Regions from separate parts of the Homo sapiens genome. Here region 1 is linked to region 2. The links are contacts of gene promoters, found by promoter capture Hi-C in blood cells and fetal thymus (Javierre and others, 2016). All regions are on one chromosome and are shown on one strand. Each heading gives the region's core, a stretch centred on a gene start or on the middle of the fragment in contact. The rest is flanking DNA. Distances are from core to core; before and after follow the strand shown.

Region 1 (5,173 bases), core at 2,254-4,753, 200 kb before region 2:
TCATGAGATTCACATATCAAATAAAAGATTCATCAAAAAATACATTGAGCCAGGTGCAGTGGCTCACACCTGTAATCCCAGCACTTTGGGAGGCCGAGATGGGAGGATCACTTGAGGCTAGGAGTTTGAGACCAGCCTAGACAGCATCACAAGACTCAGTCTCTACAGAATTTAAAAAATTAACCAGGCATCTGCAATCCAGCCTGGGCAACAGAGGGAAACCCTGTCTCTCAACACACGTGCACATACACACACACATACACATATTGAATAGTATGTCTCTCATACAAAATAGAAAAAAAATAATTCTTCACAGGGTGAGCATTACAGAGGAGGGTGTTTTCAAGACAATGTCATCAGAACCCCTCCTGAATAATGGAAGTCGGGATTCAGAAGATGAAGAGACTTCCCTACATGGGACCAGACAGGTCAGGGGCACAGCTACCCAGATCCACCCTCTTTCTATTTCACATCAGTGTCAAGGCCTCCACTACAGCTCTCTCCATCTAGCCCAAAGTGGGCCACGCACAGACTTCCCTGGGGCCCAGCAAGCAACACTTTTAATAAAAATTGAGCCAACATTTAAAAATCAAAACGTCTTATACAAAACAAAGCCCAGATTTCCTGCTTCTATTAAAATGAGAGGCCAGACGAGGTGGCTCACCCCTGTAATCCCAGCACTTTGGGAGGTCGAGGCAGGTGGATCACTTGAGTCGCGGAGTTCAAGACCAGCCTGAACAGAAAAACAAGACCCCGTCTCTACAAAAAATACAAAAATTAGCTGGGTGTGGTGGCGCATGCCTGTAATCCTAGCTACTTGGGAGTCTAAAGTGGAAGGATTGCTTGAGCTCAAGGAGGCCGAGGCTGCAGTGAGCCAAGATCTCACCACTGCACTCCAGCCTGGGCAACAGAGTGAGACCTTGTCTCAAAAAAAAAAAAAAAAAAAATCTGATCTGCTGGCAGTGAGCAGCAATCTGCCAGAGCTGTGCCCCCACCACCACCCCCACCCCCGCCCACCCAACAAACTAGAACAAACTAACCCTCAGTTTTCCAAACGTTTCAAAGACATGAATCCTGGAAGTATCCACATACGATTCCTCTGTTGAGGTGAAACCTAATCAAACTATGTTTAATCCCTCCAGAAATGAATCCTCTATGATTTGTTTTTAAGATGGAATGTCAGTAAAAGACTGCATTTTCAACATATGTGCATTAGGCGATATTATGATATCATAAGGTCCAATGGCAAGCATGTTTTCCTTTCTTTTAGAACTTATTGATGTATTTTATTTTTCATAAAAGCCAGGTATGTTATTTACAGTTAGTTCTACACTTAGACAGTTATTAGAATAAAAGATGAAACATATTTATTATTACACATACAACATATATATTATCAAAATGAGTTTCTAAGTTTTTTGTTTTTTGTTTTTTGTTTTTTTGAGACAGAATCTCACTCTGTCACCCAGGCTGGAGTGCAGTGGTGTGGTCTTGGCTCACTGCAACCTCCGCCTCCCGGGTTCAAGCAATTTTCCCGCATCAGTTTCCCAAGTAGCTGGGACTACAGGTGCGTGCCACCATATCCAGCTAATTTTTGTATTTTTAATACAGATGGGGTTTCACTGTGTTGGCCAGGCTGGTCTCGAGCTCCTGACCTCATGATCCGCCTGCCTTGGCCTCCCAAGGTACTGGGATTACAGGCATGAGCCACCACTCTCAGCCTCTACGTTCTTTTTTTTTTTCCTCCTGGCTACAAAGACGCAGAAAACTTTCTAAGTTCTCAAAGACAATAGTTCATTTTCTTTTTTATTGACAATCTTTATAACCACTGTTTCCATTTTCAGTTAGTTCATTTATAAATTCCCAGAAGCATGAAACCAACTCATTTTCTCAGTCACTAAAAGCTTCCTAAGTTTGTTTGTTTGTTTTTTTCCTAAATTGCTACTTTCAGGCTGGATGTGGTGGCTCACACATGTAATTCCAGCACTTTGGGAGACCGAGGTGGGAGGATCGCTTGAGACCAGGAGTTCGAGACCAGTCTGGGCAACATAGCAAGACCCTGTCTCTATTTTTAAAAAGATAAAAATTGATTTATTAATAAATTGCTACTTTCAGCCAAACTCAAAATATCTCCTCTTTTACAAACCAGCCTGCTGAGTATTCTGGGTGAATACAGGAAGCCTGGCATTTAGCTTAATCTCCATAGAAAAGGATAATGCTCTACATTATGAAAATGAAGGTGTTCTCACTTAACCCAAGATGAATAGGCTTGCCCCATTCTACTACCACTGTATTACTTACAATATTAAGCCTCACTTTGAAAACAATGGATGCATTAAATTAATAAATGAGAAAATGAATCACCAAAAAGGTTAATATAATGCATGATTTATTGTATTACAAATAAATCGGGCTGGGCGCAGTGGCTCATGCCTGTAATCCCAGCACTTTGGGAGGCCGAGGCGGGTGGGTCGCCTAAGGTCAGGAGTTCGAGATCAGCCTGGCCAAGATGGTGAAACCCGATCTCTACTAAAAATACAAAATTAGCCCGGTGTTGGTGGCACATGCCTGTAATCCTAGCTACTCAGGAGGCTGAGGCAGGAGAATCACTTGAACCTGGGAGGCAGAGGTTGCAGTGAACTGAGATTGCACCACTGCACTCCAGTCTGGGCGACAAGAGTGAAACTCCATCTCAAACACACACACATAAATTGGACACTTCCCATGCTTCAGGTACACCAATTCCAAACACAAAACTCAGCAGCAAATCTTTCTTCTTCTAACCCAGGTTCATGTTTGAAGTAATAACATGAGGGCTGTAGGAATAACTTTTGCCCAAAAGTGCTTCCCCCATAAGAATACTGAAATTACTTTTCCCATTAAAAATTCTGTGAATGATGATTTATCTTCTTCTACCAGTTATCATTAAAAATAGCTAATTTAAATTTTTATGAAGTAACTCAGAAATCTAACTGCCAAAAACCCTAAAGAGAATGAAGATATATTCCACTTTGAATGACAACAGCTAATGAAATGTTATTCTTCTGTGTAATGAATAGAGCAGCCAAAAGTCTGACACGAGCTATATTTTTGGCTTCAGCCTCACACCCAACCCAAGAGGAAGGCTCAGCACTCCTTGGCTCTATCCTGATCCTCTGTGGCTTCTCTGGGGGTTCCTTCCTGAATAATCTCACTCTTGCCCTCCATTCTCTTCAAGCCTACTCTTTTCCAAAAGACCCAGGGGGAACCGACCAGACAGTTTTGTATGAAATTCCTCAAATTCTAACCACAAATGTATTTATGGAATAGACAGAAAACCTGTTGTGGGTTCATGGTGAGGAGAAATGTTACTGTAGGAGGTGGAATTCTAAGATGTCCCCCAAGATTCCTGCTCCCTGGTATACAGGCTCCGTCTCACCCTCACCCCCTGAGCGTGACTGTGACTTGAGCCTATGATGGGACAGTTGCTCTCGTGATTATGTGACATCCTGTGACCAGTGGGATTTTGCAGATGTAATTAATGCCCCTTAGCAGCTGACTTTGTTGTGTGTATGTGTTTTTGGGGGGTTTTGGGGGGTTTTTTGAGATGGAGTCTTGCTCTTGTCACCCAGGCTGGAATTCAATGGTGCAATCTCAGCTCACTGCAACCTCCACCTCCCGAGTTCGAGTGATTCTCCTGCCTCAGCCTCCTGAGTAGCTGGAATTACAGGCAACCGCCACCAAGCCCAGCTAATTTTTGTATTTTTAGTAGAGACGAGGTTTCGCCATGTCGGCCAGGCTGGTCTCAAACTCCTGACCTCAGGTCATCAGCCTGCCTCCACCCCACAAAGTGCTGGGGTTATGGGCGTGAGCCACCATGTCTGGCCTGTGTTTATTATTATTATTATTATTATTATTATTATTATTATTATTTGAAAAATTGCTTAATTCATTGCCAACTTTTTTTTAATGGGACACTTCACCCCCTTTGTTGAAAAATATCTGGTACCCTGGCCCAGCATTCCTGTGTGTCCACAGCTGGCTGGAACATCCCCCTACCTGGGGCCATGCTCTCCTGTAGGCCACAGTGCTGCTGGGGCTCTACGGTGGCCATCTGTGTTTGAGACCCTGAGCAATGGCCATCAGACAGAGGCTGACCCAGTTGGAGGGTGTTATCTCCATCCCCTGAGGGCCCCAAAACTTATCTATCTCAGATATAAGAACTTGGCTCCTCACCATTCCAAATGGGGAGATAAGGGCCTGGAAGACAGAATGTCAATCCACCTTTATTAGAGGAAACCCTGCACTGTAACTGTTTTAAATAACGTATGCCCTGCCCCACCCAGTGCCTGGTGGGCTGCCAGGCATACTCAACTTGGAATGGTGGTGTCTTCCAGCTTCTGCTGCTGGCTGGCAAAACTGTAGTAGTTGTTGGGGCCCAGGACCCACCCTCACTTCTTGGTGTTGTCCATCATCTGTTTGGGTGTGTTGAGGAAGAGGATCCAGGTGGCCTTGGTGAAAAGGATTTTCTCATAGGCCTTCTCAATGCACCCAGCCATCTCATCCCTGATAGTGTCAAGCAGGATGTGGATGAAGGTGTAGCTCTTGGCAGGGATGTTACCCTTGGCCAGGAACACCTTGTTGTAGCCGCCCTCCATCAGGTATGGCTCCAGGGACACAGGGCGCTTGATGTAGGCATTGGTCTGTGTGTCCGTGGCAGGCAGCCACTCCAACTCCATGTGGAACTCAGCCACCTAATCCTGGGACAGCAGGAAGAGGAGGTTGAGGCCCAAGAGCTGGTGCATGTAGGCTGACTTGGGTAGCTCTTAGCAGCTGACTTTCAATCAATCGAAAGGAAAATTATCCTGGATGGGCCTGACCTAATCGGATGAGCTCTTCAAAGTCCCTGGGCCCATCCTGAAGGAGAGATTCAGAGTATAAGAGAGATTCTTCCACTGGCCTCACAGGAGCAACTGCCATGTTGGAGAGAGGACCACAGGGCAGAAAACCACAGGCAGCCTCCAGAGTATGAGAAGGGAGCCCAGTTGGCCAGCAATAAGAAAGCAGAGACCGCCATCCAACAACCCTTAGGAACTGAACTCTGCCAACAACCCATAAGCTTTAGATGAAGACCCTGAGCTCCAGGTGAAATTGCAGACCTGGCTGAAACCTTGAATTCAGGCTTGGGAGGCCT
Region 2 (5,559 bases), core at 1-2,500:
CTAGATGGGTCCGTGGGCCGGAGGGCTTTTCCGCTAGCTACAGTGAATCTGCTTCACCACGAATGGGTTTCCCCATTCAAAACCACCTCCACCCCTGTGTCAAGGCTGCGCTCCATTTATCTGAGCGGTCAAGGTCAGCCCCTGGCTCACACACCTTCGAGTCCCCTCCCCCGCGCAGCTGGCGCAGGATCCAGGACGGCAGGACGGTGTGGCCTTAGGGAGGGCCAACGGCTGCCTAACGTCCTGTGCCCACCCCGCCCCGCCCCACTGTCCCCTGAAAGCCTGGCGCCAATGACCCGCGAGACATTTTTTGCCTGGGGTGCTCCTGTCGGAAAGGAAAGAGGAAAGGACGACTAAGAACTTATACTCGAACTCCCGAATTTCTCTTTTCAAGGTTTAAGAGGAAAGCTGGTTCGTGGGGATTGGATGGGAGGCCACCAGGAAACCAAGTTCCCGCGCCAGCTTCAGTGCTCTCCTCTTCCCGCCGCCTTTGCCCCGCCCACATCACTTTCGCTCCAGTTTTTGAAAACGCTGCGAAGCGGAATGGTCCACAGGGGAAAACGGAGGAGGGGCCAAAGCCAGGACTTTGAGACCGGCGCGCGGTCAAGCCCAGGCAGCTCTCCCTAACCCTCCAGCACTGGGCAAACGCTGCCCGATGACGCCCGCCTCGGGGGCCACGGCATCACTGGGGCGACTGCGAGCCCGGCCGCGGAGCCGCTGGGACGCGGCTTACCTCCCGGCTGTCGCTGCTGTGTGTGTTGCCCGCGCCAGTCACGTCCCTAATGGGACCCTCCGTTTCGGCGTCTGTAAGGCGAGGAGGACGATGCGTCCCCTCCCTCGCAGGATTGAGGTTAGGACTAAACGGGGTCCGCAGCGCCCGGCAGCTCCCGAGCGCTCTCCCCAGCCGCGCCTCCCTCCTTCCCGCCACCCGTCCCGCAGGGGCCCGCGGCGTCACCTCTCAGGCTGTAGCGCGCCTGCATGCCGAATACCGACAGGGTGCCGGTGCCCGTGCGGTCGTCCTTCCTGACGCCGCAGCGGAGGATGTGTTGGATCTGCCCCAGGTACTGCAGCTCCCCGTGCGGCGGACGCGGCTCGGCGTCCCGCTCCTGTGCGGCGGGGGGCAAGGGCCGGCGCGGCAGCTCCGAGCCGGCCACAGGCATGGCGCGGCGGGCGGGGGACGGAGGCAGGCGAAGTGGCGCGGCGGGACGGAGGCAGGCCAAGTGGCGCGGCGGGACGGAGGCAGGCCAAGTGGCGCGGTGGCAGGACCCCTTCCGCGCGCCTTTTCCCGCGGCCGTCCCGCGCTCCGCCTCTTCCTGCTCGGCGGGGTCGCGGCGGCCCCCGCTCTAGAGAGCGTGCGCCAGGGGGAAACGCAGGAGCCACGGGTGTGGCACAGAACGGAGCCCAGGGCCACAGCTGAGAGTCTTAGGAAACCCGGGAACCTGGATGCAGGTGCGGTGGCTGGGAAGGACTGCGCCCTTTGGGAACCGTCTGGTCGACCGCGCCTTCTCTAAGCCAGCAGCACAGTTCCCACGTTTTCCTGCGGTCTTGTCAACAAAACTGCTGTTTGAGATCTGTTTCCTACAACTAATAAGGGATTTGCATTTCCATTTCTTCGTTCTCACTGAAGCAACCGAAGCAAGTGGTATAATGCAGCTTTTCTACTTGATTAAAAACCGCCAGGGCGCTGGACGCGGTGGCTCACGCCTGTAATCCTAGTACTTTGGGGGGCCGAGGCGGGTGGATCACCTGAGGTCAGGAGTTCAAGACCAGCCTGGACAACATGGTGAAACCCCCGTCTCTACTAAAAGTACAAAAATTAGCTGGGCGTGGTGGCTACTTGGGAGGCTGAGGCAGAAGAATTGCTTGAACCTGGGAGGCAGAGGTTGCAGTGAGCCAAGATCCGACCATTGTACTCCAGCCTGGGCGACAGAGCAAGACTGTCCCAAAAAAAAAAAAAAAAAAAAAAAAAAGACCGCCAGGGCTTTTCCGAGGTTTTTTGTTTGAGCCCTGGCGGTCTTTTTTTTTTTTTTTTGAGACAGAGTCTCGCTCTCTCACCCAGGCTGGAGTGCAATGGTGCGATCTCGGCTCACTGCAACCTCCGCCTCCTGGGTTCAAGCAATTCTGCTGCCTCAGCCTCTCGCGTAGCTGGGACTACAGGCGCCGCCACCACGCCCGGCTAATTTTTTTTTTTCATGTTTAGTAGAGACGGGGTTTCGCCATGTTAGCCAGGCTGGTCTCAAACTCCTGACCTCAGGTGATCCACCCACATTGGCCTCCCAAAGTGCTGGGATTACAGGCGTGAGCCACCGCACTCGGCCCCAAGTTTTTAATAGACCACATTTCCCAGTTTTACTGAATTGTTTATAACATTAACACTGGGGAGTGGGAACTGTTGATGAAAAGAGTTAAACTCTGTAAAATATCTGAAGAAATTTATTCTGAGCCAAATATGAGTGACCAATGGCCGGTGATAGAGCCCTCAGCAGATCCTGAGAACATGTCCCCAAGGTGGTTGGGCTACAACTTGATTTTTTATACATTTGGTTGAAAGAATTGTTATCTAAAGATCTGGAATCAATAGAGGGCTGGGCGCGGTGGCTCACGCCTGTAATCCCAGCACTTGGGAGGTCGAGGCGGGCAGATCACGAGGTCAGGAGATTGAGACCATCCTGGCCAACATAGTGAAACCCTCTCTACTGAAAATACAAAAATTAGTGGGGCGAGGTGGCACACGCCTGTAACCCCAGGTACTCAGGAGGCTGAGGTAGGAGAATCGCTTGAACCCAGGAGGCGGAGGTTGCTTGCAGTAGCTGAGAAAGCGCCACTGCACTCCAGTCTGGGTGACAGAGCCGTATGGGGAAAAAAAAAAAAAAGATTTGAATGAATAGAAAGGAATATCTGGGTTAAGATAAGGGGTTGTGGAGACCATGGATTCATCATGCAGATTAAACCTCCAGGTAGCAGGCTTTAGAGAGATAGATTGTAAATGTTTCTTGTCAGACTTAAAGAGTGTGTTCTACCTGTCTTGAGGCCTGTGTTGATGTCAATGCTGGTCAGCTGTGCCTAAATTCCAAACGGAGGAGGGAATAATGAGGCATGTCTGGCTCCCCTTCCCATCATGGCCTGAACTAGTTTTTGTGGTTAAATTTGGAATGCCTTTGACCCAGAGGAGTGGTCTTTTCAGATGGTTCTGGGCGTAGAATTTTATTTTTGGTTTACAGAACGATTTTATAATGAGTTTAAAATGCACTGATACATGTGTTGTACTTGCAAGCATCCTTTTACCTCAACGGTTGATTGAGTACAGAGGTGCTCTCAGCATTTTGGGTGGGACTTTTCTTAGCTGGACCGGTTTGTTCTGCACATTGCAGGGCTTTAGCAGGACTGTGGAAAGCCAACCATATGTTGGCATTCCCCCACCCCACACCAGCTGAAAACTGTCCCTACACGTTTCCCTACACGTTTCCGAGCACGAGGAAGATCCCAGGCTGAAAATATTCCAGATTATCCAGATGCACGTTATCTGTGTTTAATTTCCTTGTGTTATTCTTTTTCCTTTTTTTTTTTTTTTTTTTTTTTTGAGGTGGAATCTTGCTCTGTCCCTCAGGCTGCAGTGCAGTGGTGCTCAGCTCACTGCAAACTCCGCTGCATGGGTTCAAGCAATTCTGCCTCAGCCTCCCAAGTAGCTGGAACTATAGGCGCCTGCCACCATGCCCAGCTAATTTTTTTTTCTTTTTTTTTTTTTTTGCATTTTTAGGAGAGACAGGGTTTCACCATGTTGGTCAGGCTTGTCTCAGACTTCTGATCTGAAGTGATCTGCCCACCTCGGCCTCCCAAAGTGCTGGGATTAAAGGCGTGAGCCACCATGCCCAGCCTTACTTGTGTTATTTTTTAAAAACCTGATACATAATAATTGTGAGGTAGACAGGGCTTGACTCTGGAGGCAGGGCTCTGACATGGGACCAAATTGAGGAGTAGTCAAAACAAGGATGGGGCAGAAGTAGTTTTCCATAAGACGTGCCCACCAGTGTGCCATGTCAGTTTACGATTGTCATGGCAACATCCAGAGCTTACTGCCCCTTTCCATGGCAGTGAGCCGACAACCGGAAGTTACCACCCTTTTTCTAGACATTTCTGCATAATCTGCCCCTTAATTTGCATGTAATTGAAAGTAGGTTATAAATATCACTGCAGACCTGCCTTTAAGCTACTGCTGTCAGCACACTGCCTATAGGGTAGCTCTGCTCTACAGGGGCACTCAGGGAGCTGTTGCCATATCAGTAGAGCTTTTCTTCTACCAGGTAGCTCTTAAATTCTTTCCTGAGCAAAACCAAGAACCCTCCTGAGCTAAGCCCAATTCTGGGCTCACCTGCCCTGCATCAGTTGCACATCCTTGTGTGTTTTTTTTCTTTCTTTCTTTTTTTCTTTTCGACGGAGTCTCGCTCTGTCACCCAGGCTGGAGTGCAGTGGCAGAATCTCAGCTCACTGCAACCTCTGCCTCCCAGGCTCAAGCAATTCTCCTGCCTCAGCCTCCCGAGTAACTGGGATTACAGGCACCCATCACCATGCCCAGCTAGTTTTTGTATTTTTAGTAGAGATGGAGGTTCACCATGTTAGCCAGGCTGGTCTCGAACTCCTCACCTGAAGTAATCTGCCTGCCTCGAGCCTCCCAAAGTGCTGGGATACAGGCGTGAGCCACTGCACCCGGCCCCTTGTGTTATTTTGAGGCTGGTTTATTTGTTTCACCCAAATACCAGCTAAATCACATCTCAAGACTAGGCTCCTCTGCCCACATGGAGCTTCCACTTCTGCTGCCTTCCTTGAGTATCTTGGCTTGATAGTAAAGACAGAATGGTTCTTTTCAAAGTAGTTACTCCATAAATGTTGGTTAGAATGAATGGTTCTCTCAGACAAATTTCATTCATTCATTCATTAACACACATTTATATCATGGTGCCTTCCTCATGTCTACAAACAGCAAGACAGACAAGGCCCTTTTCTTCATAGAACTGATATTCTGGCAGTGACAAACACTACAAAAGTAACCAAACAAGACATCTGCAGATAGTGACAAGTGTGATGATAGTAAATTAATGGGTATAGCACTAAACAGTGATTGTGTAGAGGGTGCTTTAGATCTGATCACCAGGAGGCCTCATTGAGGAAGTCACATTTGAGCTGAGACCTGAATACTGGGAAGAAACCAGCAGGGGAAGATCTGGGGAAAGAACATTCCAATCAGCAGGTGCATTTATACCAGTAGGTGCCACAGTGCTTGCATCTATAAAAACATCCCCCAATAGGGACGGTCATGATGCTTAATCCTGTCTTGTTCTAGGAAGAAATAATAATTATTAGTGGATACGTTAACTTATTGGAGTATAAAAAGCTCTTCCTTCTCATTAAGAGATATATTTGTTTAAAATTTTACTTTTATATGTTTAGTAGTCATAGAAATTTGTAGTATATTTATGTTATTTTGATCAATTATGTACAAAAAATAATTATAATGATCACCCAATCTAGAATAAATATTTCATACCTAGAATTTGATGTCAC

The links. The method cuts DNA at HindIII sites, captures the fragments that hold promoters and counts their contacts. A CHiCAGO score of 5 or more calls a contact.
Region 1: a fragment that was not itself captured here is called in contact with the fragment with the promoter of TYMS in region 2 in 1 of 17 cell types (activated CD4 T cells); the score reaches 5.2 in activated CD4 T cells.

What each region holds. Positions count from the first base shown.
Region 1 is chr18:856,158-861,330 of GRCh38, reverse strand. It overlaps the pseudogene LOC441806. Among named protein-coding and RNA genes, the nearest start is that of ADCYAP1, 46 kb to the left of the region's middle. The HindIII fragment of the contact is 3,194 bases long and covers 1,907-5,100 here.
Region 2 is chr18:653,344-658,902 of GRCh38, reverse strand. TYMS (thymidylate synthetase) reads right to left here and starts at 1,250. Exons shown (of 7, transcript NM_001071.4): 1 at 956-1,250. The coding sequence starts at 1,160. TYMSOS (TYMS opposite strand RNA) reads left to right here and starts at 612. Exons shown (of 2, transcript NR_171001.1): 1 at 612-1,061. RefSeq lists enhancers at 538-657, 525-1,024, 1,025-1,526 and silencers at 888-937, 1,108-1,287. The HindIII fragment of the contact is 8,200 bases long and covers 1-5,559 here.